Linked DNA regions of Homo sapiens: regions 1 and 3 are each linked to region 2. The links are contacts of gene promoters, found by promoter capture Hi-C in blood cells and fetal thymus (Javierre and others, 2016). All regions are on one chromosome and are shown on one strand. Each heading gives the region's core, a stretch centred on a gene start or on the middle of the fragment in contact. The rest is flanking DNA. Distances are from core to core; before and after follow the strand shown.

Region 1 (3,244 bases), core at 94-2,593, 1.5 Mb before region 2:
AGCAAAAAGATACCGCATCAGAGACAATGTTCTGGAAATATTTCCATGCTCTGAATCTGAAATTTAATTTGCTGATTTTCTGAAATCTCATTAATTGGCAATTCTTGTCAAAATAAGATAAACAAAAATAAAGTTGGGATCACTTACCAAGTTGTATTTCTTTTGTTTACTTTTCATTTTAGACATACTTAAATCTGGATTAGATAATTATATTTAATATATCAAGAGTACCAAAAACAAAATGCTTCATTTAAATATAAGGCTAATTTATGACATACAGTAATTTCCCCATCCCCCACCCAATCTGCAGTTTCATTTTCTATGTGGTTTCAATTACCCAGTCAACTGCAGTCCACAAATATTAAATGGAAAATTCCAGACATATAAAATTCATAAGTTTTAAGTTTTGCACCATTCTGAGTAACGAGATGAGCTATCATCATCCTACTCCATCCTGCCCGGGGTGTGAATCCTCCCTTTGTCCAGCACATCTACACTGTATATACTACTCTCCTGTTCTTCACTTAGTAGCCATGATGGTGATCAGATAGATTGCTGCAGTCTTTGCTGTGCTTGTGTTCAAGTAGTCCTTATCTTACTTAATAATGGCCCCAAAACACAAGAGTAGTGGTGCAGGCAACTTGGATATGCCAGAAAGAGGTCATAAAGTGCTTCCTTTAAGTGAAAGATCTAAGTAAGAATGAATCTTTTATCCATTAAATTTCAAAGAAAGAGAAAAATATCTGCTAGTTTTGCTGTCATATCTCAAACTGCAAAAGTTATAGCCACAGAGCATAATAAGAGCTTAGTTAAGATGGAAAAGACATTAAATTTGTGGGTGGAAGACAAACAGAAATACATTCCCATTGACAGCAATTGGGTTGAGTATTAGCCATGATTTCAGAACACAGGCCCCTCGAATAAGGGAGGACTTCTGTAGTTACATGAGACAAATGAAATCTTTCATGAGCTGAGCACAGAAGTTCAAGTATACATCCCAGGAATTGGTTAGCCCTTCCCAGACAAAATAACTAAATCCTAGGGAATGTCCATAATCAGCTCATGGCCTACATCTGATTATTAACTCCTTCAGAGCTGCAGCTTCCTCAACAAAGAACAAGGGCACAGCAGAGGGGTCACTGCCTTTATCTTGAGGTTCAAAGTCATTGGTACACAACCAGACATTTTAGAGTGATAGACTGACCATTGGGCTCTCAAAAAACTATTATACCTGACTAGTATAGTAATATATATATATATATATATATGTAATATATATATATATATATACACACACACACACACAAGTAATTATAGGTGTAGGTACATATGTATAATCAGATTTCTCAGCCTTTGTCATAACAGCATCTATTCTGCATCAAGAATTTTATATTGATCTGTAGTATCCCTTATAAGCATAAAGCTATCTGGAAAACTGAAAGTGCTGATAATCAAAAGTATGTATAATCAAGTCAAATTAAAGGGCATAAGATATGTTTAAGAGTTATCGAGTTGTCTTAAACAAGTTACTTCTCTATTTTCAGACGATCTGAAAAGTCAGTTAAACAAGGGACAGATGATTTCTACAATCCCATTCCCCTCCAACACACAGTAACTCTGAGACTCAGACTTACAGGCTCAGGACAGTAGGGAATACATAACTACTGTAAATAAAGGAGATTGGTAATGTAATATACATATATATCAAAGATAAGTAAAATTCAGCACACAAAGAAAGGCTAAAAGTCTCTAAAGGAACTCAAAAAGGGGCAAGATCAATAAAGACTAGAAAAGTTTCTATAATTGGATAAGGATACTTTGAGGATATACAACTTAAGTCTAATCCTGAGAGATGTGGATAGACAGGAAAGAGGAGGGACAGTCTCCCAGAAGGAAACAGACTCAGAAAAGGAAAAATGGGCACAAAAAAGTAGCATCAGTTTTACTTCCCAAATAACCTACACTATTTATTCTAAACTGCTTTTATAATTGGCTAAAATGCCAATTGGGTGATTAAAAATGTAAAATCCTTAAAGTCTTTAATTGTTGAGAGCTGATGACTTACCATTTTGTAAAAATAAAAATATGGCTTTTCCTAACATAGCTAAATGTACCTTAATGTGCATGCTATTATTAAAATGATGGCTTATTTCTGACCACTATAATATGCAATCCTATTATCTTAAGTGCTGGCTGCATATCCACCTTCCAAGACCAGCCATGTTTTTGTGATTAATGGTATCCCTTTATTTATGATCTAGAATGATGGCATTGCTAAAAGAAAGGGCTTTAAACAGATTTCAAATTGATGCCCACCTTGCTTTATAAATGATCTAATAAATAACATAAAACAATACATTTAAATTTTAAAATGCAAGACTTAATTTGAAGATATATATTCTAACTTCAATACATTTTAAGTTTAGAAAAATAAAAGCACATCACATTAAGATATAAAGTCTTAATTTATATCTTTATACTAGATGAAGCAAGTCTGCTTTACTTATGAAGGATGGTACCAAAAACATTTGGATAAATGTAACCACCCCTCTTGACCTTGTTAAACACTAGATTTTGATGCTTGGACATATTGCTCATGTGAATAGGAGAAAACTTCATTTCATTGATAAACTCTGTTTAAATATTAAGAATTGGCATTTCTCTCCAGCCAATTGTTTTTAAAATGCACACTTACCCTGCATTGTTGCTGACTGCAGTTAGTCCTTTTACTCCAGTTTTCAGTAAAGCATCTATAAGATTCTCTGGAATTCCACATAGCCCAAAACCTATATTAAGCCCAAAAAATAAACAATTTGTAAAGGGGGTAACAATGTTCTTTCAGAGAAGTGTGTGTTATTCTTTTTAAAAGGGAAATAAAACAAAGCACATTATTAGATCTACTAAGCAAAATACACAGATATATCTCAGCAGCTAAGTAAATGGTCATATAGCTGTATCCAAATGTTTTGCACCATTATATCACATATCACTGCCCAGTCTTTGAACCACAAGTATAAGCCAAGTGCAACCAGTTTATATGGCTACTCATTCCTCAGTTTGCACTTAACTATATATCTATTGTTTTCCTGCTTTGTAAATCAGTTTTTCTACAACTTTTTCAAGAATGTTAATATGTCTGAGTAGATTTTGCATAGTTGGAAGCCTAAGCCCAAAACTGTCATTTCTTTATATTTTCCATGATTACTCAAATTGTATTGGGTTTAAAATGAACATTCAATGACTT
Region 2 (3,280 bases), core at 407-2,906:
AAAAACAAAATTAAAACAAGGCCCAAATGATGTGGCCTATGGCTCCAAACATAAAATATCCTTTTACACTCCCTCCCCACAGCGTAAGTCAGACCTTCTGAGTGCTGGGGTTACTGATGATTATACTAGAATTGAGCTGAACTAAAGTAGAACCGAATAAAGGGCAAACTTACAAACTTAGGTGAGAAATATCTACAAAGGTAGACACAAAGAAAGCCTTTCTCTCTTCCCATAAGGTATGCTATCCCTGCCCCCTTCTTCACACAAAAATAACTGCAATTTTAAAATAAAGTTTAAAGAACACAAGCTGCTTAGGTGTCTCAAGTGCAAAGAACTACTGACACGGATAATGTTAACGACTTTCAACTGCCTCTCATCTAATAGTATCTGTGCAATAAAGTCCAAAACACATCTCAGAAGGAAAAATCTGTTAACTCTAGGAGCACTTCCATTTGTCTTAATTTTGTTGTTTATCTTGTCATTGTTTTTCATATTCATGCCTAAAACAGAGCAAATGTTAGTTAGCAGCAACCAGAACACATCATCCTACTGCAGCAGGTGGCAAGAGCATCCTCGGGAAGGTGGGGAGCTGCAGCAGAGGTGAGCAGTGAAAGCAGCTACTGATGCCTTAAGGCTAAGGCCATAGGGACAAGCATGACAAACAGGCACAACCTCACATTATTTGTTCCCCAAATCCCTCCTCCAGAGTGGATCAGAATAATCGTTTCTCTACCACTGGTCAAGGCCAGACGTGGGTTTTCAAAGACTCCATATACTTGCTTTGAAATATCCTTAGCTTAATCCAAAACCTATTTGTGGGAGGACTCTGTGAGTGCCTGCCCATTACACTGTATCACCTAAAGCTGGTCCCGAAGGTATTAGTAGGAGAGAGATGTGGGATTTCAGAACACCAAGGAAGCCTATTTTTTAAAACGTAGACAAAAAAAAATATGGAGGCAGGAAGGCGGGAGGCAGTGATCTATGAGATTTGAAGCAAGTACAGACTGAGCCCCAGTACTTAGCCAGGTCTAAATCACGGTTGTGAACGCTTTCTTGCACCTGAGCTGAGGAAGAAAAGTAATGCTACCCACTTCCCTTCTTTCCATCAACTCTATATGTGGCAGCAGGACACACCCCCTGCGAACCTACCAGCCTCCGTCTAAAGAGGATCTTGCCCATCCTTTGGCGTCCACCCTTAACCAACGCTCTGGAAACGCCTTGGTAGCCCAACTGTCTTCTCTCCCCCTCCTGACACCCCCCACTCACCTCTAGGCGGTCACAGCTGCCTCTCTGGCACCTCCAACTCCTCTGTCGTTAGAATACCTAGACCTCAACGCCCTCTCGCGTTCTCCCCTCCGCGACTCGCCTGTGTTCTCGGATCTTCTCAGATCCGCTACGGTCGGCCTCAGGTCCCTCACGAGGGAACCCCCGCCCGGCCCCGCTCACGGTGCCCCATCCTCCCGGGCAAAGTCCACGCCTACGTCCTGACCCAGAGCCCCAGCTCCTTCGGGCCTAGTCAAGGACACCGCCTCTGTCTGGCCCACACCCCGCCCGCGGCACCTCCGCAGCCCAGTTCTACTCCCCAGCGCGGGACACTCACCAAGCGTGACCGAGCGGCAGCAGAGGAAAGGGAGTGAGCCACGAAAGGACAGTCCGCGGCGCCTCCCCTTCGCCACCAGCTTTATAGCCGCCAACCCACCCGACTCCGGCACCGCCGAGAGTCGCTGGGAGGCGGGACGGTGGCTCCCACAGCCAATCGCGGCCGGTAGAGTTGCCCGGCAGCGCCCGCCCCCCAGTCCGGCTTCTACCAATCAAAAGGAAACTAGAGGCGATGACTCGCTAGGATTTTCCCTCGTGGCTGGAAGGGCGGGGAGAAGAGGCGGGGACAAAGTCTCAGGGCCGAGGAAGTGGTGTGAGAGACTGACGTGAGGTGGCACGAGAGCCCAGTTGCCAATGACGGAGCTGCGAGATACGGCGAGAGCCAACGGGAGCGGAGTGAGAGGTTCTCCGACCAATTGGGACTAAGTGAGAGGAGATGCGGGCCAATGGGTACTCCGCGTCCCACCGCTGGAGAGATGGTCAAATGTGGGAGGCGAGGTGGTCCCAGCTTGGGAGTCTGTCAGGTTGCCTAGCAACCAGAACTAGGCTTCACCTGAAAGATTTCTGAAATACTGTACTTGATTTGAATTCAGTCTTAACGTTTTCTAGCAAAGTGTGCGTAGATTGCAAATTGGAGCAGAATACTTCACCCAGAACTTGTATATGTGTAAATAGTCTAAATACCCGATTTGTAAATACTCAAATATTGTCTCCTTTATTCAAAACTACCTTGACTTAAAGAAAACAGAACAAACAAAAGTGCTCTTGAGACAAAGCTTTCTAACTAAACCTAAAACAAAATGGTTTCAGGATTAGGCATCCGTGGGGAGGGTGCAGAGCCTTGCCTGTGAAGGGAAGTTGATACTGAATTCAAGGATTTTTGCCAGGCCATGCACTCTGAGGAAAGGGACTCCATTTGGCCTGTTGCCCACTGTATCTTCTAAGCTTCATATGTGGTACCTGCCAAGTAAAAGGCTGTGGAAAGGCCACGTAATTGTCGGCATAGTAAATCCATCGGATACGGACTGCCTAACTCCCCCAGCAAATAGAGAGGAGCAATTCAAGCTAGAGGAATTCACTGAAACACTATTTGGGGGAATCCAAAGGAGGACACTTGTGGCTTTGCAATAAACTCTGCCTCTATCTGGTCAGAGAGAGAAGCCATAATACTTAGCTTTGGTGGGGGACCATGAGTGAGGTTCGGAGTTGTTTGTATCTCTCCCCATCTCAATTTAATTAACAGGAATGCTATTGATAAGGGGTCATTGGTAATTCTGTGATTCACACAATTATTGTTATGGGAGATTCTTTTAACCACTATAGATGCTAACCTAGTAAGACACATTCTCAGCAGCAAAGTGGCAAAATATATTGGAAATGGAACCACTGTGAAGTGGTGGCATAAATGACTTGGGGGAAGAGGACCACTCAGTAATGATTTCCATTCCACAGTATTGCCCATGACTCACTTCATATGTATGTAAAGTAACTAGATAGTAAACAGAGAGAGAGACATTGCCTGATTATGATCAACAGCAATTTGGGGTGGGGTAGGAGATTAAAATTCTTGGCATATTGGAATATGCTGAAAGGCAGTAAGGACAAACACAAGAAAGAAGATACAGTTTTGTCGTTAGGAATCGCAAATAATTCCAACTCCAGGAGTACATAATGGGAAATG
Region 3 (2,967 bases), core at 400-2,899, 1.5 Mb before region 2:
TCTTATTTGAAGTTAATTTCCCTTAATCTTTTAACAAGTATGCTTTGTCCCTATTAGTTAAATATTTCATTCAACCACTTGCTTTCATTAAAATATTAAGAAAGGAAAAGTAGCAAATGCTTCACATGAGAAGGTACAGTAATTACATTCTCTATTGAAGAGAAGCCTATTGCTGAAACTAAATGAAACATTCATTGATAATTTGTGAGTCAACTATAAAGATCATTCTGGAGAATCATTTTCTGATGAAGTTTTTGGAAGTATAACACCCACATCAGACCCCGAGGTGTAAAAATTTCTAGCAGGTGCCAATTTTGCCGATGGTTTTGCACTCTGATGTTCCTCAATACAGTTCCCCTAATGGTAAAAATTAAAACATATTTTTTGTCTCTGGGAATATACGTTGATGGCAGAATTTCTTTGGTAAAAGGAAGTAAGTCACAGCTATGTTTTACTAGCTCTTTTGAGCCACCAATATTTCTTTTGCTCAGATTGAAGAATGAGTACAGGAATAGGAGCATCCTTGAGAAAGGAGCCCTCGTGAACTTTCACAAGTTGCTGGGTTAGATCCCACCAGACATCCAGGCATCAAAAGCTCCAAGGGCAGAATGGTCAGAGGCAAAGGAGTCCCAAGTCCCCCACTTGAATAACCTAGACAGACTTCTGTTCCAGCTGTCCCACTAAATATGAAGTTAATCCTAAGGTCACTTGACCATTGGTGATGCAAGCTTTCATTTCACACCCGAACTCATTAACCACCAGCATAAAGTCAGTGCCCAGAATAGCCCTTGTGCAGCCTTCAAATACCAGAGCCAGGCACTGCAGCGCAGAATAAACATGGGAATATTTTCAATAATTCCTTTCTGTTTGGTAGTATACAATTTTGTTAATCTTTTTTAAAAAGCAACTAAACGTGTAAATATTACACAAACGTGTCAAATAAGGTAAAGATGATGTAAAATTACTCCTGTTATTGCCAAAATTAGTTGTACTTTAAAAAACTGGCTAAATTAAAGAAATCAAAGAGCATTAATATCACATAAGTCCTTCAGAAATAAAAAGTGATATGAGAGTATCACTGAGAACTTAACTGTAATTGCACCAAAGCTGCATTTGCTAAAGATTTAAAAATTGTTAATCGAAAGCAGCAAATGATAAATAAGCAAAAACAATGATTTCTGTAATCTGATAGGTAAAGTCTTCAAGATCAGTTTGGAAAACTCTTAAGTGTACACTCAAAGGTTTCATATTCCTCAAAAAACAACTATATAAATCTATAAATCCAAGATATAAATACTTAGTATGCTTAGAATAACCAAAAGATTTTAAAATCTATAAAGTCTGTGGCTGAGAGGATTGAAAATTCAGTATTATAAAGGTTAATCAATTTTTCAGATAGAACCTTTGTAAGCATTTCCTAGAAGACACCAAAAGGACTGAAGGACTGACCCCAATGATTATTAGCAGTATCTTTCCAGAGTATCAAATTAGCTTTGACATTTTAAGACAATACATGTAAATTACAATATCAATTAAATAAAATTGTATGATGTCACATTTTCTAAGCATGTAACTGGTCTTGGCAACTAAAATACACAAGGAGAAAAACAACTGCATGTGCCTATATAAAAGGGCATATAGATCCAAATATTTAACAAGCAGTGCAACATAGATATCGACCAGTCTAAACAGACTCCCACAAGTGGACATACCAGCAGCCCTGCACACACCTATATATGTGCAATACACATGGGCATGTATGATTTTGGGCCATTACGAAAATACATTTTTAAATTCCAAATTCACTCTGATGTCCATTTTTAGAGTTGCTGATATGCACGAGTGTTTTTAAAACTATCACAATACCTGAAAATCACGTTTCCTGCTCGGTCCGCCTTCCAGGCTTTCACCAAAGCAAAATCCCCTGTAATTGCTTCCTCCAAAATAAAGTGCTGACCATTGAACTCCCTCACCTGCAGAAGAGGGAGAAGGCATCATCAGGTATTTGCATAGGTCTTGATTGTGATAGAGGCACTCTGATAGAGGTAGATAATAAGGATACAAGCCTACTGAGGGAAAATTTCTCAGAGGGAAAAGCATCCCAGAGACTTCAAAGATAAGCAGTGTTAGGCAAGCAGGACTTAGTCAAAGTGGTCTAAGGGGAGCTAAGGAAACAGACAAGCAAAGGTCCAGTGACAAAAGAAAATTTGTGCATTTGAGGAACTGAAAGTTCTATGGCCTGAGGGATAGACTATTTTCATTTTACTATTTGTATGTACAGGTTGTATATTGAATGTGAAAAATAGTCCTTCTTTCCCTCTCCCCTGAAAAAACAGTTTGCATAAAATGGTCTATGTATTGTTTTCCTACATAAAATAGTTACAAAAATCTATCATTCAGCTATCCTCAATAACCTATATCACCTGTTGAGATTTTAAATGGGATTCACAGAATCAGTAAATTTGGAGAAAACCAACAAGCCCTATCTTCCCACCCATGAGCATAGTATATGTCTCCATTTACTGAGGTTTTCTTCGACCTCCTTCAATAGTTTTATTATTTTCTCCATAAAAGCTTTATTTTTTTTCTTAGGTTTATTTATAGGTACTTAGTGGTTTCTCTTGCTACTGTGAATGTTACATTTGCTCCTATCTACTCTTCTGACATTACTGATCTAGGGAATGCTATTGATTTTTATTTATGTTTATTGCCTTTTAATTATACTACCAATTTTGGAGGGAAGAACATAAAGCAAAACTGTCTTGCCATCATGTTCTTTTATTCTTGACGGTTTATTTCCGGGAATTAAAACAAGCATCCATTGCCACACTCCATCACTGCACAAAATGGAGCCATGTGAATGTAGAACTCCATTCTCATCCCTACCGCACCCCCTAGTGGAAAAACAGACTAAGTGCGTTTTACAAAAAGCTGCTATAGAAAATAGAAAATTTTGGTACATTTATT

The links. Contacts are between HindIII fragments. The CHiCAGO score rates a contact against its expected background, and 5 or more counts as called.
Region 1: a fragment that was not itself captured here is called in contact with the fragment with the promoter of HMGCS1 in region 2 in 5 of 17 cell types (naive CD8 T cells, activated CD4 T cells, non-activated CD4 T cells and 2 more); the score reaches 7.8 in naive CD8 T cells.
Region 3: a contact is called between a fragment that was not itself captured here and the fragment with the promoter of HMGCS1 in region 2, in 4 of 17 cell types (total CD4 T cells, fetal thymus, monocytes and 1 more). The highest score is 8.7, in total CD4 T cells.

What each region holds. Positions count from the first base shown.
Region 1 is chr5:41,858,619-41,861,862 of GRCh38, forward strand. OXCT1 (3-oxoacid CoA-transferase 1) reads right to left here. Exons shown (of 17, transcript NM_000436.4): 3 at 2,696-2,786. Among named protein-coding and RNA genes, the nearest start is that of OXCT1-AS1, 9.8 kb to the right of the region's middle. The HindIII fragment of the contact is 4,650 bases long and covers 1-3,244 here.
Region 2 is chr5:43,311,756-43,315,035 of GRCh38, forward strand. HMGCS1 (3-hydroxy-3-methylglutaryl-CoA synthase 1) reads right to left here and starts at 1,657. Exons shown (of 11, transcript NM_001098272.3): 1 at 1,601-1,657. RefSeq lists enhancers at 1,427-1,566, 1,817-2,046, 2,053-2,569, 2,570-3,084, 3,179-3,280. The HindIII fragment of the contact is 3,835 bases long and covers 1-2,373 here.
Region 3 is chr5:41,840,809-41,843,775 of GRCh38, forward strand. It overlaps OXCT1 (3-oxoacid CoA-transferase 1), which reads right to left. Exons shown (of 17, transcript NM_000436.4): 6 at 1,867-1,973. Among named protein-coding and RNA genes, the nearest start is that of OXCT1-AS1, 28 kb to the right of the region's middle. The HindIII fragment of the contact is 1,846 bases long and covers 727-2,572 here.